2 separate regions of the Homo sapiens genome follow, and region 2 is linked to region 1. Evidence: promoter capture Hi-C in 16 types of primary human blood cells and fetal thymus (Javierre and others, 2016). All regions are on one chromosome and are shown on one strand. Each heading gives the region's core, a stretch centred on a gene start or on the middle of the fragment in contact. The rest is flanking DNA. Distances are from core to core; before and after follow the strand shown.

The links. Contacts are between HindIII fragments. The CHiCAGO score rates a contact against its expected background, and 5 or more counts as called.
Region 2: a fragment that was not itself captured here is called in contact with the fragment with the promoter of TM4SF1 in region 1 in 1 of 17 cell types (endothelial precursors); the score reaches 7.4 in endothelial precursors.

Annotation. Positions count from the first base shown.
Region 1 is chr3:149,376,277-149,379,088 of GRCh38, forward strand. It overlaps TM4SF1 (transmembrane 4 L six family member 1), which reads right to left and starts at 1,373. Exons shown (of 5, transcript NM_014220.3): 1 at 1,095-1,373. The coding sequence starts at 1,271. TM4SF1-AS1 (TM4SF1 antisense RNA 1) reads left to right here and starts at 1,502. Exons shown (of 2, transcript NR_109810.1): 1 at 1,502-2,039. The HindIII fragment of the contact is 5,350 bases long and covers 620-2,812 here.
Region 2 is chr3:149,467,755-149,470,566 of GRCh38, forward strand. No RefSeq gene overlaps it. Among named protein-coding and RNA genes, the nearest start is that of TM4SF4, 5.5 kb to the right of the region's middle. The HindIII fragment of the contact is 3,012 bases long and covers 1-2,812 here.

The DNA.
Region 1 (2,812 bases), core at 123-2,622:
TATAGTAAATATGAAATACTTCAGGTTCAAGATCGAAAGAAACTTAAGTGTGATGTTATGTTTAAGACAAATAATCATGTTAACATGATAATAATGCTTAAATTTGAGGCAGACGGGCACTGTGGCTCATGCCTGTAATCCCAGCACTTTGGGAGGCCAAGGTAGGAGGGTCACTTGGGCCCATGAGTTCAAGACCAGCCTGGGCAACATGGCGAAACCCCGTCTCATTAAATAAAATAAAATTAAATAAAATCTCATTAAATAAATAATTTAGGGCAGATTTGCCATGCCATAATCAGTGTATTAGGTTTAAATGTTTTACTATCTTTTACTTGATTAAGAAAATTTATCACGTATGGTACCATTCCATAAAATTTCTCCTTAAAATTTTTAATCCCAGCACTTTAAAGTAGCAAACTTAAGTTTGCTCACATTCTTTCCATGCTGTGGTTGAAGCTAATGCTTTCAGCTCCCAGGTTGGCAGGGAAATTCCTCTCACTTCAATCAAAAACAATTCTTGGAAAAAATAACACATTCCACTATTAGCTTCAGACACCGACCTGCTGCTAACTGTAGGGTTTTTCCTAGACGCCACACCCCAGCCTTACATAAAGGAGAAAGCTTAGAGTTCTTTTAAAATAGCAATGCACTCACAATTCATTATTTTTCCCTATCACAGATGGCTGAAAATAAACAGCAGAGAATTTGGATTCAAAACTGTTGATTTAGGCAGAGAACCAGCCAACCCCTTCCGGCTCCCCAGAGCAAATGTTAAATGACTGCCCGTTCTAGTAGAAACTCTATAGTCTCTCAAATCTGATTTAAAAGCGAATATCTGTTTCCTACCTATAGAGTTTAGCAAAAAGGCAGTTCACTTTTAGTTGAAAGAGCATTTTGTAAAACAACATCTCATAAAATTACTACGCTATACTGTACCAATCTCGCTTTTGTATAATCTGCTTTCAAAGGAATGAACAGCAACAAAAAAGTCACTTGATTTAGAAATATGCATTACAAAAAACTTTCCATGAAAATACATAATGAAAACATCTAGGAAACAGGAGAGAATTCAGTAATAATCCTGAATGACTTACCAGCAGGCCACCTCCTACGATGCCAGAAAAGAACCACACGAAGCGGCTGAGGTGGTTTTCGGAGGCATACTTTGTTTCCCCATTGGGAAAGTAAAGCAAAATATTAGCCGCGATGCACAGGAGGGCGAGCCCCACCAGAGAATGTCCGATGCATCGTGCACACTTCCCATAGCACATGGTGGTCTGCTAGGTTTTCTCCCCCTTCTCTTTGTCTTCAGCTCAGTGATACCCCAAATTAGATGAAAGTGTGCCCTTCTGGTGGAGAAAGCAAACACCACTCTCAGCCCATTCCTGCTACCTCTTAAATACTGCGATTCTTAGTCACTGAGGGGATGAGGTACTTTGCTTTCATTGGTCCTAATGGCAGGCTCTGGCTGTGGTGCGAAGAGGCAGGGGGAATGTCCCGCCCTTCAGACGAAATCCTTGGGACAGGCAAAACCAGGGGCAGGATGTGAGAAACAGCCTCAGTCATAGGCAACAGGGAAAATGATTAATCTTGAACAAGGCATTGACTGTGCAACTCCTCCACAAGATAAAGAATCAACAGGAAAGCCTAACATGACTTTCCAGTAACTGCCAAGTGTCCGAGATGCAACAGCCCTGGTTGAGGCTTTGAAAGACAGTGAGCTGTGCCCCTGCTCCATGCAGCTGTCTGGACAGCTTCCAATCTGAGAGCTCTGTGTTCATTTCTACCTTTGTGCTGATTTAATTTACAACCTGGGGCAAATCTCCTGAGCTCATTTCCTTGTCTATTAAATACAAGGTGTCTGAGACGTCTCCCATGGATTTGAGAAGGCTGTTGGGAAAACTACAGAGCAAACTTCTTTACTCTGCCTACAGCAAGCTCTGCAGGATGGATTTCAGTGTTCAGCGTCCCTGGACATCTGCCTCTAAAACAAATCTGCACCACAACAGAGGTGGCATCAGTCAACACAAAGGGCTCAGGTGCTTTTTAAAAATTATTGAGTGTTGCTGTCAGGAAAAGCAATGCCAGGAAGGGCCAAGGAAGGCCTAAAGCATGGGACAAAAATAAAAAGAGGAAGAAGAGAGGGGGAGGAAGAGAATGGGAGAGAAGGAAAGAGGAAAGGAGGAAGGAAGAGAGGAAGGAAAGAAGAGAAGGAGGGAGAGAAGGAGAGAGGGAAAAAGGGAGGAAGGGAGGGAGGGAGGAAGGAAGGAAGGAAAAAAGGAAGGAAGGATGGGGGGAGGGAAGGAAGGAGGGAGAGGGAGAAAAAAATAAGACAAAGGGACTTGGCAAGCAGAGTGGAGAAACAAGGTTCAGAGAAACAGAACTGGCTAGGAGTGTCAGAACCCACACAGAGGTAAACAGATGGTTTACCCAGCCAGATCCTGAGACCAGCTTCCACAGGCTCCCCACACAGGGCAGAGAAAGGGTGTTAGACTAACTTTCTAGGTGGTTACCTTGCAGAAGGAGGGGCTGGGCACTGAATAAATTTATGCCTTGAACAGCAGATTGCACCAGCCAGTGGATGGTGGTGGGAGGTGGACAGGGTGGCCGGGTGGGGCCAGGCCTGGAGGGCCTTGTCACCAGGACAAGATAGAGAGTACAGAAAATAGAAAAGGACCAAGGTAGGGAGGCATTAGCTTAGAAGAAGAAGGTGAATGAGGTTCACGAATCTAGAGTCTGAAGGATTTGGCCCGGAACTAGAGGGCGGGACACATACCAAATTTGAGGAGACCAGCTGTGGTTAGTGATGTGG
Region 2 (2,812 bases), core at 157-2,656, 92 kb after region 1:
CTGACTGGAATCCCCCTGTTACCCTATATGCTTTCATAGCTCTCTCTAGTCCATGGAACAAATTATAGTTTGTTATTATATGTTTTTGAGACGGTTTGATTAATGAAAGGCAACATGCGTAGAGGTTAAGAGCACAGACTTTTTTTTTTTAAACTAGATTGCTTGAGATCAAATCCTGTCTCCTGCTACTAGTGATGAGATCTTGGGAAAGTTACTTAATCTCTCTGGGATACAGTTTCCTTATGAGTAAAATTCAGATTAAAATAGAACCAACTTCATACAATTGCTCTGTTTTCTGTTATTAGCATTATTAATATCTATCTTCCTTTTCTTATAAGCTCTGTCCATTTAACACGTCTCCAGTACCTGACACATCAGTGCTCAAAAAATGTGCTAAAAGAATAAATATACAAAAGCTAAAATTGACCCCCATGAAAGTTCACTGACATGAAATTTTAAGACAGTTGTTTTTGATGTTTTTTTTTTTTTCCAAATTGTGCTTGCTGTCTTGGTGTTGTTATCATTTCCCAATATGTTTGTAAATTTTTATAAGCAAAAATTATTTGGAAAAATAATTTTTAAAAACTAATGGGGAAACACTTGTACAAAGGCACAGACAAAAAGAATAATACATAATTATATAAAGTCAGATTTATAGAAATTAAAAACACATGCAGTGTTAAAATTTCTCTGCATTTTAAAGCCATAACATGAATTTTTAAACTTGGTTTCTTTTTGAACCCATGTTTAATTTTAAAAAGAAGATGAGGAACCGCAGTTAGTGATGTTTTACCTTACGGAGAGTGGGTGAGGGGTGAGTTCCTGTTGAAAGTTAACTTCTCACCTATAACCATGATGATATCAAAGAATGCTAAAACAAATCAATATTTGGGCAGGTCATCTGGGACAGATTTACCAGCCAGAGCTCATGCCTCTCTGAGAGGTCACAGCTGTGCCCTTTTGTACTGAGACCTGCATTAGAGAGGACTATATAGCACCCCTTTGAGTCATGAGGCAGGAAGAGATTTGCATTTCTCATTCTAATTTTGAAAACAACTGGAGATACTTTTAAGGTGTAGATGGTGCCTGCTAGCTCCTCAAGTGCAAATCCTAACTCAGGCTGTGTCTACCCATACACAATTGTGGGAATTATCCAGATAATTTACCCTGTAGCAGAGAAAGGCCCTTGATTTAAACCTAAATGCATGCAGGCTGTCCTCTCTGTGTTGAGCAAACAATAGGTACCAGTCTTTGGTTTCTGAAGCAGGATATTGTGGTGATTAAGAGGATGGTCTCTATAATCAGACTCCTTTGGTTTAAATCTACCTTTATCTCTGTGGTGAATTAAAGCTGGCCAGAAATTCTCTGACATTTCTTTCATAAAGAGGTGAGGTCTATGTTCCCTCCCCTTGAATTTGAGATCATTCTGACTACACTGACCAATAAAATTGGCCAAAGTGACCCTGTCCCATTTTCTGGCCCAGGCCTTAAGACAATGGCAGCTTCTACTTATATCTCAGAGCCTTATGTTACCATGTAAAAGTCTAACTACAGTGTTGCAGAAACCACATGGAGAGCCCTGAGACTAAAGGAAGAAAAAGAGGGGCCCAGCTTTATATGAGCCCAGTGTTATAGCTGTTCCCATCAAGCCACCTTGATATATAAGTGAAACCACCTTGGATTCTGCACACCAATGTGGCCACAACTGAACAACAGCAAATAACCGCAATCAATACTACTTGGAGCAGAATAATCACCCAGTTTGTCTCAACCCATCTTCCTGACCCACAAAATCCTGAGATAAAGTAAAATGATTATTGTTTTAAATACACAGTTTTGAGTTGGTTTATTATACATCAAAAGATAACCAGTGGCCTGATGTGGTGGCTTACACCTGTATCCCAACAATTTGAGAGGCAGAGGCAGGAGGATTGCTTGAGCCCAGGAGTTTGAGACCAGCCTGGCCAAAATGGTGAAACCCCGTCTCTACTAGAAATACAAAAATTAGCTGGGCATGGTGGCACATGCCTGTGTTCTCAGCTACTCGGGAGGCTGAGGCAGAAGAATTGCTTGAACCTGGGAAGCAGAGGCTGCAGTGAGCTGAGATTGTGCCACTGCACTCCAGCCTGGGCAACAGAGTGAGACTCTGTCTCAAAAAAAAGAAAATTAGCCTGGTATGGTGGCATGTGCCTGTGGTCCCTCAGGAGGATAAGGCAGGAGGATCGCTTGAGCTCAGGCAGTGAAGGCTTTGGTGAGCTGAGATTGTGCCACTGCACTCCAGTCTGGGTGACAGAGTGATACCCGGTTCCAAAAAAAAAAAAAGATAACCAGAACAGTGTTTACCACTTGTTTTTGTTTCCTCATCTCTAAAATAGGGACAATAATGTCATGTAATTGCTTGCTTCTATAGAGCTCGATGACAACTCTAGATAGTGAGATAGAGACATCTGAGAGGGAGGTCTGTTTCTTCTAGTTCTCCAGACCATGTGGCCCTTTAGTAGTTCAGCCTCTCCCAGGACCCCGGTGCTTTAGGGAACACTCATGTTGAAGTGGCCCAGGCATGGAGGAGTCAGTCATGAAGCGTCAGAGCTCTTAGAGAATAGTGACTGTCTTCCCTTAGACAAAATATTTCACATTTCTTTGTTCGTGGAGGCCAAGTTGGCTCTCAACCCTGCTCCCAGCTCACCAACTTGGCACCTCACAATCTCCCCAAATCGTGCTTCATCCCATCTTCCATCTTTGCTCTTGTTATACTTCCTTGTCTCAAATCACCCCTCACTTTCTCTCTGCCAACACAGATTCCATCACAAGC